Regions from separate parts of the Homo sapiens genome. Here region 1 is linked to region 2. Evidence: promoter capture Hi-C in 16 types of primary human blood cells and fetal thymus (Javierre and others, 2016). All regions are on one chromosome and are shown on one strand. The core of a region is centred on a gene start or on the middle of the fragment in contact, and the rest is flanking DNA. Distances in the headings are between cores, read along the strand shown. Region 1 holds the start of CYP20A1 (cytochrome P450 family 20 subfamily A member 1). Region 2 holds the start of KCTD18 (potassium channel tetramerization domain containing 18).

Evidence for each region. Contacts are between HindIII fragments. The CHiCAGO score rates a contact against its expected background, and 5 or more counts as called.
Region 1: a contact is called between the fragment with the promoter of CYP20A1 here and the fragment with the promoter of KCTD18 in region 2, in 2 of 17 cell types (naive B cells and total B cells). The highest score is 7.2, in naive B cells.

The regions. Positions count from the first base shown.
Region 1 is chr2:203,235,467-203,241,138 of GRCh38, forward strand. It overlaps CYP20A1 (cytochrome P450 family 20 subfamily A member 1), which reads left to right and starts at 3,552. Exons shown (of 13, transcript NM_177538.3): 1 at 3,552-3,668. The coding sequence starts at 3,597. RefSeq lists enhancers at 3,253-3,302, 3,588-4,159, 3,983-4,272 and a silencer at 3,373-3,582. The HindIII fragment of the contact is 4,599 bases long and covers 2,435-5,672 here.
Region 2 is chr2:200,508,335-200,513,479 of GRCh38, forward strand. It overlaps KCTD18 (potassium channel tetramerization domain containing 18), which reads right to left and starts at 1,734. Exons shown (of 7, transcript NM_152387.4): 1 at 1,294-1,734. RefSeq lists a silencer at 1,507-1,966. The HindIII fragment of the contact is 2,465 bases long and covers 1-2,200 here.

The sequences.
Region 1 (5,672 bases), core at 2,302-4,801, 2.7 Mb after region 2:
AAAGCCACAGAGTTTAAAACTTTTGTGGTTTTTAGACTTTTTTTAGAGACTAGGTCTCACTATGTCACCCAGGACAGAGGGCAGTAGCACAACCATAGCTCACTATAACCTTGAACTCCTGGGCTCAAGTGAACTTCTGAGTCTCCCAGAGTCCTGGGATTATAGGTGTGAGCCATTGTGTGCGGCCCAAAAACTATTTTTTTTTTTTAGAGACGGAGTCTCGCTCTGTCGCCCAGCCTGGAGTGCAGTGGCACGATCTCAGCTCACTGCAAGCTCCACCTCCCGGGTTCATGCCATTCTCCTGCTTCAGCCTCCTGAGTTGCTGGGACTACAGGCGCCACCACCACGCCCAGCTAATTCTTTTTTGTATTTTTAGTAGAGACAGGGTTTCACCATGTTAGCCAGGATGGTCTCGATCTCCTGACCTCGTGATCTGCCCGCCTCGGCCTCCCAAAGTGCTGAGATTACAGGCATGAGCCACCACGCCTGGCCCCAAAAACTATTTTTTAATTCAACATGAGTACATGTTGAAGAGAAGAAGTATGACAGGTGATGAAGAAAATTACTTTCAAGGATAAAAATAATTTCATTAGAATAAAATTCTGTCGGATAAGTGCAATAAAAATAAGTTCAGAAAAAGGAACCATGGAAAATTTCCAGTTGTTCACAAAAAGTGTATGGGTTTTTTGTTTTGTTTTGTTTTGTTTTGGGTTTTGTTTTTGTCCAGGCTGGAGTGCAGTGGCGCCATTTTGGCTCACTGCAACTTCTGCCTCCCGGGTTCAAGTGATTCTCCTGCCTCAGCCTCCTGAGAAGCTGGGATTACAGGCGCATGCCACCACACCCAGCTAATTTTTGTAATTTTAGTAGAGGCGGGGTTTCCCCATGTTGACCAGGCTGATCTTGAAGTCCTGACCTCAAGTGATCTGACCGCCTCCGCCTCCCAAAGTGCTGGGAATACAGGTGGAGCCACCGTACCTGGCCAAGTTTGTGTGTTTTTAAAAAAAGTCTTATAGTTATCACATCACTATTATATTTACATTCCTTTTCATACACTTAAAAGAGAGCTGTAACAATTTCAAAACGTGAATATTTATAATATGACAGAAATTTAATCCTTTAAAGTCAAGATAAAAATTTTAGATGTCAATACAAAAAATGTGTGAAAAGATATATATGTGTGTATGTGTATATATATATTATATATATATTATTTATATATGCTTTTAGGGAGTATCTGGGCAAAACGTTTTAGGAACACAGGAAGAGGAGGTAGATGTCTAGTTTAGAGACTCACACTATAAAATATGGTGCCCTGACAATTTCTGGAATTTTTGTCTCTTTTTTACAGCCCTCAAAGTTCAGAGAGTCTCAGGATGTAGGTCAATTTAGGACTAAAAGAGAATTCTAGATATCTTGAAGGATTGGTACCTAAGATTACGGTACCTAAGATTACGGTTATATGGCTACCTTATGCAGTTAAAACTCTTATGTTTGGCCGGGCGGGGTGGTTCACGCTTGTAATCTCAGCACTTTGGGAGGCCCAGAGGGGCGAATCACGAGGTCAGGAGTTAAAGACCAGCCTGGCCAACATGGTGAAACCCATCTCTACTAAAAATACAAAAATTAGCTGGGCATGGTGGCGCGTGCCTGTAATCCCAGCTACTCGGGAGGGTGAGGCAGGAGAATTGCTTGAACCTGGGAGGCGGAGGTTGCAGTGAGCCGAGATCCCGTCACTGCACTCTAGCCTGGGCTACAGAGGGAGACTACGTCTCAAAAACAAACAAACAAAACAAACAAACAAAAAACTCTTACATTTACTGTTTTGAAAACCTATTGGGAACATCAGTTTGACAAGAAATATCTTTAAAATTCTGAACAAGAGACTTAAAAATGAACTTTGAACATACGACAGTTTAAAGCACATTTATATGCAGAGAAAGACTTAAAAATACAATTTCTGCCAAGTGAAATATTAAACAGCATGTTTCATTATATTTGCTATAGATGCCAAAAGAGTTGCCATTTTCAATGAGGTATGTTTCCTGCTTATGTAACAGTCATTTATCATAGAAGCTGTAAAATGCAATCTGGAATTTCTCTTGCCAAATTGCTGCCTGTTCTTGACATTTTATATTATTAAAGCTATAAAATCTATAAATACTTTTAGCACACTTTCACTAAAAGCAGCACTAGTAAGTAGCAGGCCTTGTCTTGTATTTCAGTAGCCACGTCAAAACTTCTGAGCCAGGCGAAATAGAAAGAGGGGTCCTAGGGTATTTTATGCCCAGGGCAACAAACGCCAAATGCTGACGTAGATAGCACTTATTCGGTTTTGCCAGGAGCTGTGCTAAGTGATTTTCATAAAATATGTAATTTAACCTACAGGCAACTCCATGTGGTATTATTTTCACTTTTTTACATAGAAGGAAATGGAAGCTTAGAAAACTGAAGCAATTTACCGAAAGTCAGAGTTAACAGAGCAAGGAAACCTGAACAGTGTGCAGCCTCCGCTCACCAGAAAGTGTCAAAGAATCACATTTACTAGTACTTCAGACAGAAATTCTGCGAAACAAGGCGTATCTACTCTTGTTTTACTCCCAGACACTTCCCTGTCCCGCTTAGATCAGTGGTGGTTTTCACTCAAATTTAAGTGTGTAACAGTGTCCCCGGGAGGGCTCTGTTCAAACAGATTGTTGTACGCGCCCCCTACCCCTGCCCACCCCGAGTGTTTGATTCAGTAGGTCTAGTTTGGGATCGAGAATCTTTTTATTTTGTTTTCCTTTTGTTTTGTTTTGTTTTGTTTTTGAGACAGGGTCTCGCCCTGTCGCCCAGGCTGGAGTGCAGTCGTGCCATCTCGGCTCACTGTAGCCTCTGCCTCCCCGGCTAAAGTGATCCTCCAGCCTCAGCCTCCGGAGCAGCTGGGGCCACAGGCAAGCGCCACCACTGTAGGCTAATTTTTTTTTTTTTTTTTTTTTTTTTTTTGTAGAGACTGGGGTCTCACTATGTTGCCCACGCTGGTCTCAAACTCCTGGGCTCAAGCGATCCTCCCGCTTCAGCCTCCCAAGGTGCTGGGATTACAGGTGGAGCCACCGCGCCCGGCATCGATAATCTGAATCTCTAACGAGCTCCCGGGCGACGTTGATGCAGCTGGTACCGGGACCACTCTTCGAAAATCATCGGTTTAGAGGTTTTAATTCTGAATCCATTGCGAAAACTGTTGGGCGGACAGAGCACTACTAACTCCTAACTTTTCTCAGAAAGCTGGGCTCTGCTTTCGCCAGCAACCCGGTCCGAAGTCGCGGGCATATTCTGTCTGAAATCGTGTGCACCGAAATCCCCGCCTTGCGGTGGAGGCTGGCGCTAGGCGGCCTCAGCCTCGGCCTGCTGCGCTCAGGAACCCGCGCCCCGGCTCCTCGGCGATCCATTGCTCTTTCCTCTGGCGCCGGCCGCAGGCCTCGGTCACGCCCCCAGCGGCCCGTTGGTTTCCGGGTCCCGCGGGGTGCCCCCGCCCACACGCTATGCCTTAAATTGGGCCAGGCTGAGGCGCTGCTGCTGGAGCGGCCGATCCGAGACGTGGCTCCCTGGGCGGCAGAACCATGTTGGACTTCGCGATCTTCGCCGTTACCTTCTTGCTGGCGTTGGTGGGAGCCGTGCTCTACCTCTATCCGGTGAGCGCCGTCTTGGCTCTCTGGGGCCCCGGGCGCCGCCCCAGTCTCTCTGTCGCCGGCATCCAGGCCAACCTGCCCGCTGCGGGCCGCAGGGGGCGGGCCTGAGAGGAGGGTTCGGGTTCGCTCCAGAGCTTCAGCGCGGGGACCGCACCCGGAGTCACGTGACGCCCCTCCCGGCAAGCTCTGAGAGCGACGTGGGCTGCGTCGCTACCCCTCAGGCGCCGGGCCAGGCGGGCGTAGAGCTGCTGAGGAAAAGCCCGCGCCCCCGCAGGCCGGTCTCACCTTGCCAGGCACCCCGCGCCACTCTCCAAGGCGGCTCTCAAGTACTTTGGGCAGCTTTTTGGCCATAACTCGCCAAACCCAAATTTCATTTCCCAGTGTGTCAGGACGAGACTCCTGGGCGCGCCACTCCTTTCTCCTTTCTTGAGGATTCTCCCAGCACTTGTGTATTCCTCTTTTCCATCTGTCCATCGATCTATCCTGACTGGAATCCAAAGTGCTCGAGGTCCAGGTCTTGCTCCTCTTAGGGGCTCCAGGCAAATGCTTCTTTGGGGAGAGCGCCGCGCTGCGGGTTCGGGTGCGAGGTTTCCTCTGCCGCTGACGCCTCTGCGAGCCTCCGGTCCTCCTCTCTCCACTTGCCTCCGTCAGCGAGAGAGGGAGGGTCTGAAAACAAAAGTGTTGATGACTGAGGACCGTCTTTAAAACCTGTTCTACACACTTTGGGAGGCTGAGGCGGGCGGATCACGAGGTCAGGATATCGAGACCATCCTGGCCAACATGGTGACACACCGTCTCTACTAAAAATACAAACATTAGCTGGCTGTGGTGGCGGGCGCCTGTAATCCCAGCTACTCAGGAGGCTGAGGCAGGAGAATCGCTTGAACCTGGGAGGCGGAGCTTGCAGTGAGCCAAGATCGCACCACTGCACTGCAGCCTGGCGACAGAGCCAGACTCTTATCTCAAAACAAACAAACAAACAAACAAAAAACACCTGTTCTACAAAGCAAGGTGGTGGTTTTACAGTGAAAGTTGAAAAGTAGCTGAACTGCTGGAATTGACCATACACCTTCTTAAATGTTCTTTTCCGAGCAGGTAAATGGATTAGACTAGAATCTTGCAACTACACAATCAGGGACTTCCTGAAATCTTATTTTCTGAGAAACTAAACAATTTTAGTGGTTCTTGAATTTTTGGTGATTTTAAAATGATACTCTTCTTTGATCAGCTCATAGAAGCACACTGTTTATTCTTAGCACTAGCTATGTGCCAGATATGGTTCCACGTGCTGGGAATCCAGCCGTGAAACAAACCGGACAGAAAATTCCTGACTCTTGGAATTTATTTCCTAGAGAAGGGGAACAGACAATAGAAACAAATAACATAGGATTGTGGGTAGAAATAAAGTTGGGGATAGGTAGATTGTTATTTTAAAGTAGGATGGCCAGGAGATACGGAGACATTTGAGTAGAAACGCGAAGAAGGTGAAGGTGCAAGCCATTCTGAGAAAGAGCATTCTGGGTCGAGGGAGCAGCAAATGCAAACCTTCAGAGGGAGACACGCCTGGTGTGTTCCTGGAAAGCAAGGGGACCAGTGTGGTTAGAGTGTAGTAAATGAGGAAGATACCAGAGGAGAGAAAGTCAGAAAGATGGGAGTGAAGGACAAATTTTAAATGACTTGTAAGGCTTTTTTAATGGACTTTTGCTGTGTGCCACTGGAGGATTTCAGCAGATGAATGCCATTTGAAATTGGATAGAATTCAAATTTAATTTTATTAGATAAATTTTAAAAGAATCATTGTGGTTGCTAAGTCATGAATTGACATGGGTCTCCAGGTAAGGATGGAAGCAAGCCAAGTAATTAGGAGGATATTATCATTTCAGCTTGGATCATGGTAGTAGTGGCACAGATAATGAGAACTAGTCAATTGTGAAGATAGTGCCAATGGGATTTCCCAGTGGATTGGATGTGAAATGTGAAAGAGAGGCATCAAGGAAAACACCAGTT
Region 2 (5,145 bases), core at 484-2,983:
CCACCTCGGCCTCCCAAAGTGCTGAGATTACAGGCGTGAGCCACTGCACCAGGCCCAGGGAAGGTTTAAGGGTTGGATTTTTTTAATCCATTCTGGAGATCACAGAACCACAAGTGACACTGTGGTGTTTTCCCACCTAAAACAATACTGTGATGAAAAAGGTACTCCCAATTATTGAGAATCTGCAGTATCCACACATTTCATAGCAAGTTGAAAATGGCTGCCAAAAGGCTCAACTACATCCATGTCAATTCACTTTTACTCAGTGAACAACTAAGATCGTTTTGTAGATGCCAGCTAGTCTCCAATAAAATGGAAGGAGACCATTAAAATCTGAGGAAGACCATGTGTGTAGAATACGGTCAGCAACAGAAACCATTATGGGCCAAAGGTCCAGCCTTCCAAAACCACTTATGGATGTGACATCTCGCACTGCCTAGAAGTCCTGGGAGCAGCACTCCAAAGATCCATGTGTGAGAGCCACCTCTGAGGCATGGGATGGAACTTGTTCCCTCTGCCTCATTACTGGCTCCCTGGAATCCTATCTATTCTTCAAGGCCTTCAGCAAACCTAATTTCTTGCATGACCGTCCCACGTATCCTTCTGCCCCCCAAGTTAGAATCCTTGCACAATTCTACAAATATACTGTGTGTCTGTCCACTTTTTACCCCACTTGTTTAATCCCTACTTTTTGGTCTGTAGGCCAAGGAAGCCAGGGCCTGTGTCACTCTTAATAACTCCCATTTACTGAATGCTTATTATGTGCCAGCCATTGTAAGAGACACTTGACACACTTTACCTAATTCACACAAAAACTCTATTGGATGGGAATTACTGTCCCTGTTGACAGATGAGGCCATTGGGGTAAAAAAAAAGAGTGATGTGTACAGGGGCCACACAAGGACTGACTGCTAGTAGGTTGTGGAGCCAGCCCCAATCCAGAACGGCAGGACGAACCCCAAGTTCTTCCTGCTTCACCCCACACCGCCTCCTCCAGCACTGTTTCACCCCTATGGATCCTGACCCAGCCCTTTCACTCTCTAAGCATCTGTCCATCTCAAGACTTGGCTACGATAACACAGCAGCACCCCGATCCCGAGGATTTAAGAGCTACTCCTCCTACCCCAACCCCAGGCAGTCTCTCCTAAGGATAGGAACATCATCATTCCAAGGCCACACCAGGGGGGCACTCCGCAGGCCCCATCCTCAAAAGCACCCAGTTAGGCTCCCTGCTATGTGGAAAGTGTCCAGCCCTCGGGGACAATGTCCCCCAGAGTGCATTCCTATGATCACCTGCATCAAAACCATCAGGGACGCTTGGGAAAACGAAGACACTCCGGCCACAGCACACAGTTCCTCAGAAAGTCTGAGGAGGGGTCGGGATCTGCCCGCGAACCCCACTTTGAAAAACATCGCTCAAGGGGCTCACACTCCTCTTCCGAAGCGGGAAGAGCCGGGAGGAGCTGGGGAGCCAGAAAGCCCCGCCACGGTCTTCCGCGGCCTGGAGACCCCAAATCGGCCCGAAGCCCGAGCCTGCAGCCCGGGGCGCGCGCGTTACCAGCGCGGCCCGTGCCCTTCCTCAGGGCGCCCCGCCGCCTTCCGGGCCCGCGGCCCATCCCGCGCCCGGCTCTTCCGCACCGGGGGGGTGGGGCGGGTCGGCAGCTTCCCAGACTGACCTGCGGCCCGCCAGACCCTCGGCGCGGCCGCCGGACGCCGCGGGGCGGACGCGGAAGTGAACGCCTTCTCAGCTGCTCGGCAACTCGGGAGCAGAGCGGCCCCAGCGGCGCCCCCGTGCGGCCCGGCTCTGAGGCAGCGGCTCAGGGAGGGAGGGAGGCCACGTCCCGGGCACGCCACGCCACGCCACGCCCCGCCCCCAGATTCGTCTCGCCCCAGTGGGCCGCCTCGGAGTCGGGTGGGTCTTCCATCCCGGAGGTAAGGGAAACACACGGTAGAGAAGGCCAGGGCTGAACCCCAAGGGACGGTCTTGTGTGTTCAGAGGCTGGTTTTACAGGTGAAGAGAAGAAACAGCCGCAGAAGTTGCGATTGTCCAAGGTCACTTAATAAGTGGCAAGAATTAGGATGTTAAGTGTTCTCACCCCCAGGTCAGTGCCCATCCCTCCAAACAGGGCTGCTCAGTGCCAACGTGTGTTAATATATTGCACTTGGATAAGTCTATCTGGATAGTGTCTGCAGCTTACAAAGCTTTTTCACACACAGCATTCTTGTTTAGTCTGTGTGACAGTGATATAAAGGGTGATATTTATTTCCCATTATAGCAAGGAAAATTGAGGCGAGAGCAAACATTTATTCAACACTTTTGTACACCTGACACTGTGCTAAGTGCTTTGCATGCACTACTTAATTTCCTGTTAACGATAACCCTAAAACAGTTCTTCCAGTTTCTAGCACCATCTTACCTTGTGCAAGGTACTGTGCTAGATATTTCAAGAGAAATATAACAGTCCTGTTTTCAAGGTGCTTCCCCAAAATCAAAAATATTTGGTTCCAAATTTCCCTGACTGGCTCTTAGAAGAGAATAAGCCAAAGAGAGGTAAGTCAACCTATCCCCTTAGATATTAACAGTCTTAGGAGAGAGGGAAGGTTTGTTCAACCTGTAATTATTAAGCACTAGCTATGGAGCAAGCACTGAGAGTAAAGGACTGGAAGAGACAAATAATGGGCGTTCAACCTTACTTTCCAGTACAACATGCAGAAAACTTGTTCTGTAAATATTTTAGGCTTTGTGGGCCATGCACAACTACTCAACTCAGCAGTTGTAGTCTAAAAGAAGGCATAGGCAAAACCTGAACAAATGAGCATTGCTAGTTCCAACTTTATGGACACTGAAATTCCAATTTCACATAATTTTCATGTGTCAAAAAATATTCTTTTAAAAATGCAGCTTTTTCAAACACTTAAATATGTACAAGCCATTCTTAGATCATGGGCCAGACAAAAACAAATGGTGGTCCATGGGCCATAGTTTGCCTGCCCTTGTTCAAGTGGGAGAAACAGACACTAAGCAAAGTGGTGACAGAGAGTGATAACTAGGTGCGAGGAAATGAGTGGACATTTAAGTTGAGGGCTAGGAGTCAGAATGAGTCCACCTTCTGCAGAGATGGAGGAAGGGTATTTTAGGAAGAAGGGAGAGCAAGTCGGAAGCCCCTCAGGCAGGAAAGGACTCAGCAATTTGTAGGAAGAGAAAGGCCACTAGTATGTCTGAGCCTTGGTGGGCATCAGGACAAAGGGGAAGATGAGATGGGATGAGGTTGAAGAGAGAGGCAAGAGCCCAGACTCTAAAGTATTGTGTGGCCATGGTAGAAATTTAATTTGACTGTAAGCATAATGAGAAGCTATTGAAAGGTTTTAAGCAGGGAAGTGACACAATTGATTTACTATTAAAAAAAAATAATCACTGCAGCTACTGAGATGAGAATGGATTGGAAAGGTGTGAGATGGAAGTAGATGACTATTGCAATAATCCAGGGGAGAAATGTCTTAGTTCCTCCTTGAGTAGTGTTGGCAATAAAGAGAAGTGGATGGATGCAAGAGGGGTACTCAGGAGATAGACATGACATAAAATTTGTTGGTGGATCAAATACAATGTGTTAATATGGATCCCCTGAGAAGCAAACAATATTATCAGATTAGACATGTGAGAGATTTATTGAAGGGAACACCTGTGAGGTAATAACAGGGAAGCATCTGAGGGGAATTAGGAAAGACATTAGACAGTTTCAACCCTTGTGGAGAACAGGAAAGGAAAAGTAGGAAAAGTTGTAGATATGATACAGTTCTGAGAAAGTTTCAGCACAGCCAGTGGAAAGCCTTCAAGCCAAAGTCCCCCATATCAGAAGAGTTCTGTGTCTCCCAGGAATGGGCCTGCCTTAAATCCCTCTGCTCAGTCACTGGCTGGGAGCAGTCAGTGGGCAGTGCAGCCTGGTGATAAATTTCAAAGGACAGCAGCTGAGGCATCAGTCAACAATGCTCCCTGCAATTGGAGATCTGAGAAGTGCATTTTCATGGCTGCAATATATGGGATTTAAGGGAAAGGGAAAAATGTAGGAATATCTCTAAATTGTTAATTTGAACAATGGGATAATAGTGAGTTTACCGAGTCAGTGAATTATGGGAGAGGAATAGGTTTGAGGGAAGAAATCAGAAGCTGTGTTTTGGACTACTAAGATTCAGATGCTTTTCAGACATTCAGGTAGAGAGATCAATTAGCAATTGAATAAATCTGGAGCTCAGGGGTAAAATTCTGTGTTGAAGGTGGATATTTGGAAAGCATAAGCATTTAAAGCTATGAGAGTGAATGAAACCATCTGCAGAAAGGGCAGATAAATGAGAAGAGACAACATGAAGCATTGACTTCAGCATTTAGAAGTCAGGCTTACAAGGAAGAGCCAAGAGGAAGGAGGGGAGTCAGGAGCGTATGGAGTTACAGGAACCAAGAGAGCAAAGTGTCATTCATGTCAAATGCCACTGAGAAATCAAGGGTCCATCATATTTGGTATTGTGGGAGTTCTAGGTGACCTTGACAAGAGCAGTTTCAATGTTGTGGTGAGGACGCAAACCAGCCAAAAATGGGCTGGAGAGTGAATGGGAGATGGAAGGCTGGATGTAACCCTTTAGAGAAGACTTTGTTGTAAATAGAAGTAGAGAAGTGAAGCTGTAGTGAAGGTGGGATAAGAGTCAAGAAAAGGAATTTTAGGATGAGAGTCATTCCAGCAGGTTATGCTGATGGAAATGATTCAGTAGATAGGCAGAGATTGGTGAGGCAGGAAGGGGAGGGAGGGGACAACCGAAGAAATGAAATACTTGGCAAAGCAAAAGGGTGTTGGAGCCAAAGCACAAATTAAGCAATTTTCATTTGACAAGAGCAGGGGTAGGAGGTAAAACACAGAAGACAGATTTAAGTTCAACTAAGTTGTAGATTTCACAGAGGAGAGATGAGAAAAGTCTGACCAAATGGCTTCTGCATTCTCTATTTAGTCTAAAGCAAGGTCAAAGGCTGAGAGTAAAGGAGATGAGGAGTGGAAAAGGTGTGAAGAAGGAGCGTAAGGTATGAATTATTTATCTTGGGAACTGAAAAGCAAACTTTCTATAGAAACTTGGTAGGATTGCTAAGAAGGGATGAGTGTC